2 separate regions of the Homo sapiens genome follow, and region 1 is linked to region 2. The links are contacts of gene promoters, found by promoter capture Hi-C in human tissues and cell types (Jung and others, 2019). All regions are on one chromosome and are shown on one strand. Each heading gives the region's core, a stretch centred on a gene start or on the middle of the fragment in contact. The rest is flanking DNA. Distances are from core to core; before and after follow the strand shown. Region 1 has its middle 160 kb from the start of RBFOX1. Region 2 holds the start of RBFOX1 (RNA binding fox-1 homolog 1).

Region 1 (6,778 bases), core at 3,730-6,229, 160 kb before region 2:
TTTCTTCGTTCATCTGTTAGTGGAGACCTAGGTTGTTTCCATACTTTGCTGTAGTGAGTAATGCTGCAGCGAACATGGGGGTGCACATATCTTTGAGATACTAATTTTATTTCCTTTGGATAGGTACTCAGAAGGATTGCTGGATCATATGATAGTTCTAGTTTTTTTTTGGAACCTCCATACTGCTTTCCATAATGGCTCTATCAATTTACATTCCCACCCACAATGTAGAAAGGTACCCTTTTCTCCGTATCCTCACCAACACTTGCTATCTTTTGACTTTTTGGTAACCCAGCCTAACAAGTGTGAGGTGATACCTCATTGTGGTTTTGATTTGCATTGCCCCAATAATTAGTCATATTGAGCACCTTTTCATAAGCCTGTTGCCCATTTGTACATCTTCTTTGGAAAAATGTCTGTTCAAATCCTTTGTTCGTTTTGTAATTGTATGTGTGTTTTTTTCTGCTGTTGAGTTGTTTGAGTGCCTCATATATTTTGAATATTATCCCCTTATTAGATATATAGTTTAGAAGTATTTTCTCCCACTCCGTAGGTTGCTATTTTGTTCTGTTTGTTTCCTTTGCTGTGCAGAAGATTTTTAGTTTGATGAAAGCCTACTTGTTCATTTTTGCTTTTGTTATCTGTGTTTTTGGTGTTATATTAAAAAATTCACTACGCAGACCAATGTCAAGAAGGTTTTCCACTTTGTTTTCTTTTGGTAACCTTACGGTTCAAGTCTTATGTTTGAGTCTTTAATCCATTTTGAGTAGGTTATTGTATATAGTGTGAAATAAGGATTCAATTATATTCTTTTGCCTGTGGATATCCAGTTTTCCCCATACCATTTATTGAAGAGACTGTTCTTTCCACATTGTGTGTTCTTGGCATTCTTGCTGAAGATCAGTTGACTATAGATGGCTGAATTTATTTCTAGGCTCTCTATTCTGTTCCATTGGTCTTTATGTCTGTTTTTTGCTGCTACTATACTGTTTTGGTTACTGTTCCTTTGTACTGTATTTCGAAATCAGAACATATGTGATGCCTTCAACTTTGTTCTTCTTGCTCAAAATTATTATAGCTATTAGGGGATTTTTGTAGCTCTTTATGAATTTTAGGGTTGTTTTTTCTATTTCTTTGGAATTTCCTTGGAATTTTGATAGGGATCATACTGACTGTAGATCACTTTGGGTTGTATGGATATTTTAACAATATTTATTAATCCTATCCGTGAATATCGGATGTCTTTGCATTTATCTGTCTTAAGTTTCCTTCATCAATATTTTATTAATGTTTGTTAATGTTTAATGTACACGTCTTTCAACTCTTTGGTTAAGTTTATTCCTATGTATGTTATTCTTTTTTTTTTTTTTTTTTTTGCTATCGTCAATAAGATTACTTTCCTAATTTTCTTTCCAGTAGTTCATTCTTTGTGTATAGAAATGTAACTGATTTTTGTATGTGGATTTTGTATCCTGCAAATTTACTGAATTTGTATATTATTTCTAAATTTTTTTCCAGGAGTCTTTATGGTTCTCTCTCTCTCTCTCTCTCTCTCTCTCTCTCTCTCTATATATATATATATATATACATATATATGTATATATATATGTATATATATGTGTATATATATGTATATATATGTATATATATATACACATATATATACACACACACACACACACACACACACATATATATAGGGAAAACTGTTATATTATATATATATATATATAATGTTATGATTTGTGTGTGCTTGGTGAGAACACATAAGATCAACTTCTTCAGAAATATCAAGTATATAGCACAGTATTGTTCATTGTCATCACAAGACTATGCATTAATGAGATCCTCAGAGCTTATCCTACGTAACTGAAATTTTGTGCATTTTGACCAACATCTCTCATTCATATATGTGTATGTGTGTGTGTGTGTGTGTGTGTGTATGTGTGTGTGTGTATATATATATATATATATATATATATATAATCTTAGCCAGATCTTCTGGATAACTTGCTGGAGCTTTAGGACTTGCTGCTTCACCTTGCATTTTTATGTTATAGAGATGGTTTCTTTTCTTAAACCTCATGAGCCAGGCTCTGCTAGCTTCAAGCTTTTCTTCTGCAGCTTCCTACCATTCTCAGCCTTCATAGAATTGAAGAGAGTTAGGGTCTTGCTCTGGGTTGGGCTTTGGCTTAAGGGAATGTTGTGGCTTATTTGATCTTCTATCCAGACCACTGAAACTTTGTCCATATCATCAGCAAGGCTGTTTCACTTTCTTATCATTCCTGTGTTCACTGGAGTAGCAATTTAAATTTCTTTCAGTAACTTTTCTTTTGCATACACAACGTGGATAACTGTTTGGGGGAAGAGGCCTAGCTTTTGGCCTATCTTTGCTTTTGACATGCTTTTCTCACAAAGTTTAATCATTAGTTTTTGATTCAAGGTGAGAAACATGTGACTCTTTCTTTCACTTGAACACTTAAAGGTCATGGTAGGATTATTCACTGACCTGATTTCAGTATTATTGTGTCTCAGAGAATAGGGAGACCTGAGGAGAGAGGGAAAGATGGGGAACAGCTGGTTTGCGAAATAGTCAGAACACACACTACATTTATCAGGTAAACCTCCCATCCTATGGGAGAAGTTCACAGCACTCCAAAACAATTACAATAGCAGTATCAAAGATCACTGATCACAGATAACTGTAACAGATGTAATAATCATGAAAAAATTTTAAATATTGCAGGTATTACCAAAATGTGCCACAGAGACATGAGGTATACACACACTGTTGGGAAAATGGCACTGATAGACTTGCTTGACACAGGGTTGCCGTAAAGCTTTAATTGATTAAAGAGCAAGCAGTGTCTGTGAAGTATAATAAAATGAAGTGCAATAAAATGACCTGGGCCTGTAATAACCTCCCACCTCTGGCTGTGACAGCCAAATATGCCTCCAGACATTGCCAAATCTCCCCAGTACACTGAGTGAATCCCCTGTTGTTAGACAGCTAGGTTGTTACCTATTTTTTCCATTATAGAAAATGTTCCCAGCATTTTGGGAGGCCAAGACGGGCAGAACACTTGAGCCCAGGAGTTCAAGACCAGCCTGGGCAATATAGAGAAACCCTGTCTCTACCAAGGAAAAAAAAAACAAAGAAAAGAACTGCACAAAACTTAGCCAGGCATGGTGGTGAGTGCCTGTAGTCCCAGTTAACTGGGGAGGCTGAGGTGGGAGGATCCCTTGAGCCTGGGAGGCAGCGGTTGCAGTCAGCTGTGTTTGCACTGCCGTACTCCAGCCTGGGTGACAAAGTGAGACCCTGTCTCAAAAAATAAAAAAAGAAATGTTATAAAATATCATTTTGTGCTATAAGCTTTTTGTGGTATTTCCAATATGTAGAAGAGACTTCCACAAGCAGAGGTATGAGGTCAGTGGAAAGGAGGGTTTTTAAGGATCTTTGTCTGTATTTCCACATTGCCAAGCTAAATTTGGCAAGCTAAAGGCTCCCTCTTAGGAGCTTTTCCTAACCTTGCACCTAGCCGCAGAAAGTAACCAGGGGCTCTTTAGAAGGAAACTTAGATGGTGACACCTTACCCCAAAGACAGCAGGTTACAATGGGAAAGGCCCAGAGAGCCTCAGCACCCACTTCTCACACCAACCCAGGCTCCTCCCTTCTTCATAATTAAGCTTCAGATAATGTTTGCAATCTCCCCGTGTTTTCTACCATGTGTCAGGGTGACTGATGGGCTTGTCACAGCTCAGACTCCCTGTAAACCGGCACTGTGACTGCTTTAACCTTCCTTAATAGACCAACTTCAAGGGCAAACCAAGGACAGAGATTTGCCAGGCCCTCCCTGATCAGTCCCTCCCTCCCCTGTGACTTTTTCTTTCCTCTCTTCTGCCTCTTGCTCCTCTCAAAATCGTCTGCAAGATAGACCTAAGGCAGTTGCCGAGCACCATAAGTAAAACTATTCTTAGGTTACAAGCTGCCAGAATTTTCAAGCAAGTGCATGTAAATATTTCATTCCTGACAGTGAGAGTTATTAAGAGAAACCTTGTGCGTTTTCTAGAAGAATTTTAAGAGACATTTATTCATTGGACATGTCTGGAGCCTGCAGAATTTGGTAGGAGATGGGAAGGGAGGTAGGGAGATGAATATCATCCATGAATGGGCTCTTTCCTTTTTTACACTTATGGTTAAAATTTAAGATGAGTCCTGGCGGCTCAGTGGCTGGAACCAAGTCCCAGGCCAGAATAGAAGAGAAAGAGATAGGGAGAGGGGAAGCTGCCTACTTCAGAAATACCCCTTTGGGGCCGGGTCTGGTGGCTCACGCCTGTAATCCCAGCCCTTTGGGAAGTTGAGGTGGGCAGATCACATGAGATCAGGAGTTCAAGCCTGCATGGTGAAACCCCATCTCTACTAAAAATACAGAAATTAGCCAGGCATGATTGTGGGTGCCTGTGGTCCCAGCTACTTGGGAGACTGAGGCATAAGAATTGCTTGAACCTGGGAGGTGGAGGTTACAGTGAGCCGAGATCACGCCACGGCACTCCAGCCTGGGCGACACAGCGAGACTCTGTCTCACAAACAAAAACAAAAACAAAAACAACCCTGTAGGTGGGCTGTTTGCAAGTGGCTCTGTTGAATGTGGTAGGGCTCATAATATCAGATGTTAGGACTTCTGCTACTGTTACAGTGATTACCTTGAACTCACAAAACCACAGCTATCCATTCTCAATCTCCAACTCTAAGCCAGACGTTCCCATTGAATATACATAAAACAGCAAGAAAGATTTTTGTGTCCCTTTTTAAATAAGGAAACTGAGCCTCAGACAGGTAAGGTAACTTTCCCATGGTAGAGTAAGGACGTATAAAGATCAGGCATTTTTGTCCTTACACATTCTACCAGCTGGAGATCAAGTTGAAGGTTCTGAAAATCACTTGCCAGCAAAGGAAGAAAGTTTACAGTGGAAAATCACAAAGAACAGCATAGGTGCCCAGGGTTTTGTGACAGGGAGGATAAAACTCTGCCTACCATTGGCCAGCAACCATGCCAGGCACCTTGAACATATTGTTTTGCTTCTTACAGCAGTCTTATAAAATGCTATTTCCATTTTACAGGTATAAAATTATGGAATCAGAGAGGCTAAGTCACTTGTCATCATCTATGGTCATGTAACAGAATATCCCTAAAACTTAGTAACCGTTTATTATACCTCAAGATACTGTGGGTCAGGAATCTAGGCAGCGCCTGCTGGGCATGAGTTGACTCAGGTTTCTTGGTGAAATTCAGTTGACTGGCACATTGGTCAGGAAGACTGGAAGCCTGGGCTCCCGTGGGACTGATCCCAAAGCACCTAGATGTAGCCTCTGCAACAAGGCTATCTTAGGATAGTCAAAATTCTGACATTTCAGCTGTGGGTGCCCAGAGAGCAGCCCAGTAGACAGTAGTGGACACTGTCAGCATTTCTTTTTTTTTGTGATGGAGTCTCACTCTGTCGCCCAGGCTGGAGTGCAATGGCATGATCTCAACTCACTGCAACCTCCGCCTCCTGGATTCAAGTGACTCTCCTGCCTCAGCCTCCTGAGTAGCTGGGATTACAGACGCATGCCACCATGCCAAGCTAATTTTTGTATTTTTAGCAGAGAAGGGGTCTCACCATGTTGGTCAGGCTGGTCAGGAGACCTCGTGATCCACCCGCCTCCACCTCCCAAAGTGCTGGGATTACAGACGTGAGCCACCGCGCCTGGCCTACTTCACCACTTTTTGACAATAGGACTATAAGGTTTTCTGTTTGTGCCTGTGAAAACAGTCTAGAGATTCAAATTGGTTCAAGAAAAGAGTTGACTCAGTTTGTTTAAGAACTCACAACCTGTTGCTTGCTCCCATTTGTCAAGGTGGCTGTGTAGAGGAGAAGGGGAATGCAGTGTTTCCTGTTATCCCCAAATGGATCATTAGGACGCAAAGTTGCCTGCAGAGATAAGCTATGCATGATAAGTTCCAAAATAGTGAGGTCCAGATACCTCCCCAGGGCTAAAAGAGGACAAGGCAATTGTGCTATTTCTAGTGTCCACTAGTCTATATAAGCAGAAGATCAGAGAGGATTCAAGAAGAGAGAGAAGAATGAGTCATGGGTCAACGTCCTTCTCCACAACATCATGAAAAAAGCCAAGCTCCAGGGCTCCTCTTGTAGATACTGGGAGGCCAGCAAAAAGAGGCCCTGATCTACTCACGCAGCATCTTTGATGGTCGTTCTTCTGGGCTTATTTGTGCAGGTGGAGATAAAAAGGAATGGAGGAGAGAGAAAGCTTCATTCTCTGCTTTGCTCTCGCTTTTTGTGGCTAGGTGAGGACCTGAGTTTCCTGAAGGCTAAAGGGATACCAAAGAGAAACTGGGTTTGAGCTTTGTGGCTGGTGTACCAGAGAGAACCAGCTGCAAGGTGAACAATCTCAGTGTCAAGAGATGGAGTCACACTGCCAGCATTCTATCACCAGGAGAGTTTGGGAGAGGTTGAGCAGAAGTGGATTTCCTATCATGGAACCATGTAGGAGGATCTTGTACAAAGTAGTGCTTCAGTGGGGATGTGTGGGCAGCCAGCTGGGTCTGTTCACCAGAACCATCTTCTCCCCTTTGATACACGGTTGGCTACATGCTTACACCCCCGTGCCACACAGGTGACTATGTGACTGAGCTCTAGACAATTGAATGTGAGCTGGAATGATGCATGCTGCTTCTGGGTGTGGTCTCTAAAAACCACTACTCATTCTCCTCCTGTC
Region 2 (5,919 bases), core at 3,148-5,647:
TGTTTTAATTAGTTCATTAGTTGACTCCGTTTGTGAGAAAGCCTTCAGGTAAGTCTGAAGACTGAGAACTTGTGGGCAAAGTAGGTCTTATATAATATTTAAATTGTGCAAATCATGTTATTGAACCCAGAGTCATTTATGGATACATTTGAGTATTGTATCAACTCTTCTGTGACTGCTATTGAAAGGTATCCTTGGGAGGAGGAATAAAAGGATGCTTGGCTACTTGATTTTTTTTTTTTTTTCTGAGACCAAGTCTCACTCTTTTGCCCAGGCTGGAGTACAGTGGTGTGGTTGCAGCTTTCTGTAGCCTCAAGCTCCCAGGCTTAAGCAATCCCCCCACCTCAGCCTCCCAAGTAGCTGAGACTACAGGTGCACACCACTACGCCTGGCTAATATTTTAAATTTCTTGTAGAGATGGGGTTTCACAGTGTTTCCCAGGCTGGTCTCAAACTCCTAGGCTCAAGCAGTCTGCCCACTTCAGCCTCCCAGACTGATGGGATTACAGGTATGAGCAAGAGCCACCACCCTCTGGCCTTCTTAGATTTTTAGATCTTAGATTTTTTTAGCTTGCTTTTTTCATCCTTTTCCTATTCTGTTTAATATATCACTGATAATCTCTTAAAAATCCTAGAGTACTCTGGAGTAATCTACAAATCCCTGGAATTCACTGGATGTTTACACTGACCTTCTGGAAAAGTTATTAAACAAATATAAGATAATAATGGAGAAAATGGTCATTGAAACATCAGTGAAGGCAGAGTGAAGCCCAGAGCACTGGCAGTGGAAATCATTATGGTAATGGTGCATCTTGAAAAGCTAACCAGTCACTCTCCACTGCCTGTGGTAAAGCAAATACGCCTTACAAATCATTTCAGAGCCTGCCTTGGGCCTTCCCTAGCCCATATCTTTAGTTCCAGCTTCTACTCTCTTGGCTCTTTCACCATTGTCCAGCCCCTTAACTTCAACAGGACTCTATTTATATTGAACAGATTTGCTGTTCCTAGAAGGAGCTATGCTGTTTTGCTTCAGGCACTTTCATAAGCTGTATTCTCCTTCGGGAATATCCATCACCCAACTCTCTGTGGAATTCCTATTTATCTTCTCTATTTAGACACGATCTTCTCTAGAATGCTTTGCCTGACCTTCTGCCCTTCTGCCATATCTGGCTATAGGCTCCTGCTCCGTATTGGCCAAATGTTTCAAGACAGTTGCAATCACTCATTTATGTGTCTGCATATGCTATTGGACTGTACGCTTCTCGAGTGCAGAAATTGAGTCTAGTTTATATACTAAATGGTTTACATGGGGGACTAGCCTCAAGAAGGATGCATGTTTGATGACTGAAAGAACAAAGGACTACATAAATGGATGAGCAGGTTGACTTCTCATTTCATTCCAAAGTGGTTAGCCCATTTAGACAGCAATCTACTGCAGGAAAGAAGGAAGGTTCACCTATCATTTATTGAGCTTATTATGTGGCTGGTGCTGTGCATCAGGGAACAAATCTTTGATGTAAAGACCTTTTAGTTTAATAGAAGAGAACAACATTTACAGTAAGCTGAGACAAATGACAGGGTAAAGGTAAATGGAGGTGTTAGAGGAGTTCGCAAGAACACCTTATCTGTGCCTATGGGGGGCTGGGTAGGGAGTTGAGGGATTGGCAGGGAGAAAGTGATATTGAAATGGAGATCTAAAAACTAAACAGAAGCTATCCAGGAAAAGAGAGTATGTAAGGGTATTCCTGGTTGGAGGAACAACATATACAAAAGATTGGATACAACAAGAGAAAAGCCCTCCTGGGTCACAGAGTGAACTTAAAAAGAGCCAGGAGCTGGTAAACCACATGGACAACTTTAGACCTTATCCTGGGGAATAATGAAGAGCTATAGGAAGATCCTAAGTTTTAAAGTAAGATGATGAAATTTACACTTTAGAGAGCTCTCAGCCAAGCACAAGGCTACAAAGTCCTTGTTCTTTTTAAACCAGCTTTATGAAAGGTACCATTTTTGACATTTGCTTAGATCACAAATTGGAAAGTATTTTTCATGTCCAGTAGGAGGAGCCAAAGTCTCCAGGTTCTTTCTAACCATAGCAGGGCGATTCTTGGCCCTAGGTTGTCCTGGGAGCTGTCAACTTCAGCACCTCTCATTTATCTTCCAGTGGCTCAACATGGAGAAATGACAGGAAAAACTCTACTTGGAATGCGAAAGGTCATTGTGAGAAAGAAACTAATACTTTCCAAATGAATAGCATAATGGCATGCCATATTGATCTTTACTCTAATTTTGTTTTAAATTGTAATGGATGCCTCTCACACTCATATTCTTAAGCCATGTAGCAATACAGGTACCAGTGAGTCATGCCTGACACTCATCACTAATCTATCTAAGCCTATTTCTACTCTACAATAAATAAATCAGAGCAGACTCAAGCTGAACTTGATTTTCAGATAGATGAATATGTTTTATTTCCAATGGTAAATATATATATGTATTAAAAATAATCAAAGGGCCCAGCAATTACCCATTTTAATGTAACAACAGCTGATGTTACTGCCTTGAATGATTGCATTCATTTGTTCCTTTCTGGAATAAAAAATGAAGGAGAATAGACAAACAATTCCTGTTGGTGAATTTGCACAAAACAGTATATTCCAACAGAATTTCCCGTTAACTGCCATTTATTTCTTCTATCATTATTGATAATTTGCTTTTAAATTGAGAATACCTCTTTTACAACCCATCTCATCTCCCTGCATGGCTAGACAATTACATTTAAATTCGGCGGTTTTCCCATTGTGAACAGTTTCTGGGGGAAATGATTATGATGTTACCAACCCAGATTTATGGTTTCATTTTGCTATCACTGAAGGATGAGACTAGTATAAAGAAAAAAAAATTGCTTACATACAAATATATTATTATCAAAGAGAATCCTAAGGAAACATATGGTAAAAATCAACCCAAATTGCAAAATCGCTGGGACCAATGATAAAGATATCTTTCTGGATTTTGCAAACTTACTTTTTCAAATGATGATTAAATATTGCGTGCTTTAAAAAGTAATATAGTTATAGGCAGAAGTTCCCTTTCTTTTATTCTGAGGTTGAAAGAAACCGCAGCCCGATAGGATTGCAAGAGGAACCCTTAAGGAATCTGCTCCTTGATGGGCGCTAGGAAATACACGTACATCTAGTACAAAGGAATGCACATCACATGGCCCCCTGTTTTGGAAAGCTTACAGCATTTCTTATAAGAGGATCCATGGTATAAGTGCAAACACAGTCACATCACAGGATGGGAAAATGAACAGGCGCCTCAGATCAAGTGCTCAAGGCTGGAATCTGGCCTTGTCCAATGCCACCTGCCCTTCAGAAGGCAGGGTGGTGCCACATAAAATGAGGTAGACTGCCTGGGGAGTCCTGGTTCCTTGCCAGCTATGTGACCTTGAACAAATTACAACTCACTGAACCTCAGACTGACTTTATTGTACAACAAAACCCCCTGGAATATTTGTGGAAAAAAGAGGAAGGGAGAAAGGAAGGAAGGGAGGAAAGGAGGAAGGAAGAAAGGGAGGGAGGAAGGAAGGGAGGGAGGGAAAGGAAAAGGTAGGGGAAGAGCAGAGTTTCTCACTCCAGTCCAGAGTGGGACCCAGGAAGGGAGAAATATTGCTTTAATCTCTCTAAGCATCTGTGAAATGGATAAACCTCCAGTATCTACTTCCAGTTGTTGAAAAGACTCCATGTAAAGTGCTTAAAACAGCATCTGGTGGAAAGTAAATGCTTATTAAGTGCTAGTGTGTATTAAGGCGTCATGGGGCTTCTGGCTGTAAGACATCTGCTAGGAGGACAATCCCTAGACCCCTTCAGCGTCCATTGCGGGAGTAGGTGGCCAGGAAGGGGGCAGGACAGGAGAGGCCCAGCTGTGCGGGGTGGGGGCGTCCCAGGCCAGCCGCACCCACCCCAGCCCTGCATCCCATCCAGCCTGGAGAACTTTTTGAATCTTGGATAGGGCTCGATCTCTGCCTGGCCGGAAGATTTGAAGACTTGCCAGAAAACTTCCTCAGAGAAGAAATGGACTGGGGCAAGAAGCTGCCTCCACTTGGCGTCTCTAGTGGGGGATTTGTCTACTTTGATTGGGGTTGGGAGGAGGGCGCTGGTGCTCAATGAGTGAGCCCACCTGGGGACTACCAGGACGAGGACGGGCGCAGGTGAAAGTCCTGGGCTCATTGCCCCAGCATCCAACTTTCACCCTCTGTCCCCTTTAGGCCAGGAGACCAGGGTACCGGGTCGCGTGTCCGCCGCCGCCGCCCGCTGGAATCCAGGGCTGCACGCGTGACCGCGGCGGCGGCGGCGCTGGCGAGGGGAAGGGGGAGGGGGCGCTCCCTCGCGCACCAGATTATTTTTGGCTCCGCAGCCGGGGCTGCTCGCTGCTTGTCGCGCGCTCACACACACACAGACACACACGCACACACACACATGCACACATTTTCTCGCGCTCTCTCCGGCTCTCCTTTGTTTATTTTCTAATCTATATTTTTACTGGAAGATTTCCTCTTTATTCTCTCCCGCCCTCCTACAAGCGCTCTTGCTGGCCGTCTGGGTGCACACACCGCTCCCTCGATCACCCCAGCCCCCTTCCTGGTCTCCCGAGCGCGGGGTTTGAAGGTCACCTCCTTTCCAGTCCCCGTGCGAGCCGCGCTGCCGCCGCCTCCTCCAGCCAGAGTCGGTGGGACTGGCTGCGCTGCCCTGAAGTGGTTCTCCAAGCAGCGCGGAGGGTGGCGGACGGCGGACGGAGCCCAGGGGCCGCGTCGGGTGGGGAAACCCGAACTCGCGGAGGGGAATCCCTCCCCCTCCGCCCCAGCCCCCCAGCAGCACCCGCGGTGGGGCGGGGGCGCTCTGCCAGCCCCGGGAACAGCAGAGGCGGCGGCACTGGCTGGACCCACGCGCGCGCCTCCGGGGCTGAAGAAGGAAGGAGTGAGCCGAGCCGAGCACCCCACATCTGGAGGGGACAGCCAGCCGTGGGCCCCGCCCCGGCGTCCGGAGCAGGAGAACTCCGAGCTTCTTGCCCAGGCAGAGAGAGCAGGAGCGGACCGCGCGCCCGGGATTGAGAGTCCTTGCGCTCCAGACCCCCACCCAGTGGCCGCCAGGGTCCCCGCCTGTCCGGACCCTCGCCGCGCCCAGGCAGGCGCGCCAGGGCGGGGCTGACCTGCCCGCGAAGTTGCGGACAGTGCGTGAGAAACCAGCACCCCCTTCCGCCGCCTCCAGCTTATGGTGAGTGTGGCTGGGGGTGCAGAGAGCGCACGGGAATTCGGGGGTCTGGGGCCGAGAACGTGACCGCAGCCGGGCTCGCCGGGAGTTCTAGGTAAGTCCAGGCGGAGTCATTGCCTCTGCACCCACCCTGACCTGGTGGGTCAGGTCCAGAAGGTCTCATGGAGGGAAGCGCTAGGTCCCCGAGAACTGGCCTCCTCCTAGCGCCAGTCTGGGCGCTCTGGACGGGAACTTTTTCAGGGTGTGTGGAAAGATCTCGAGGCGTGTCCCCCCCTACCCCCAGGAGGCCGAGACCCTGAGCCCCCTTGTGCGTCGCTTCCAGAAGCACGTCCTTCCTTGCCCCAGAGCGCCCCTCCGAAGCATCCAGGCTACCTCGTCCGTCCTCCTGGGAGCGAGTCCTAGGTGCCAGGAGCAGCGGGAGCCTGCCTGCGCACTTTGATTAGTCTCCCTGGCCGGCTGCAAGCGTGCACTCAGCGCGCCCCCGGACCGCTGCCTCCGCCCGCAGGGTGTGCAGGAGGAGGCATCTTAGTGACCCGGGAGGGTGTTTAGGTGCCCCGAACCCCTTGTGGGAGGAGGGGAAGAGAAGGCTCACTTATGTGGAGAAAGCGCCGCTGTGTTTACTGGCACTGGAATCGATGCCCCGCGGT

Evidence for each region. Contacts are between HindIII fragments. The study calls those that stand out against the background at their distance.
Region 1: a contact is called between a fragment that was not itself captured here and the fragment with the promoter of RBFOX1 in region 2, in 2 of the 25 tissues and cell types used here (H1 embryonic stem cells and dorsolateral prefrontal cortex).

What each region holds. Positions count from the first base shown.
Region 1 is chr16:5,854,621-5,861,398 of GRCh38, forward strand. It overlaps a transcript of RBFOX1 not described here. Among named protein-coding and RNA genes, the nearest start is that of RBFOX1, 160 kb to the right of the region's middle. The HindIII fragment of the contact is 5,009 bases long and covers 2,476-6,778 here.
Region 2 is chr16:6,014,627-6,020,545 of GRCh38, forward strand. RBFOX1 (RNA binding fox-1 homolog 1) reads left to right here and starts at 4,398. Exons shown (of 16, transcript NM_018723.4): 1 at 4,398-5,366. The HindIII fragment of the contact is 10,336 bases long and covers 1,140-5,919 here.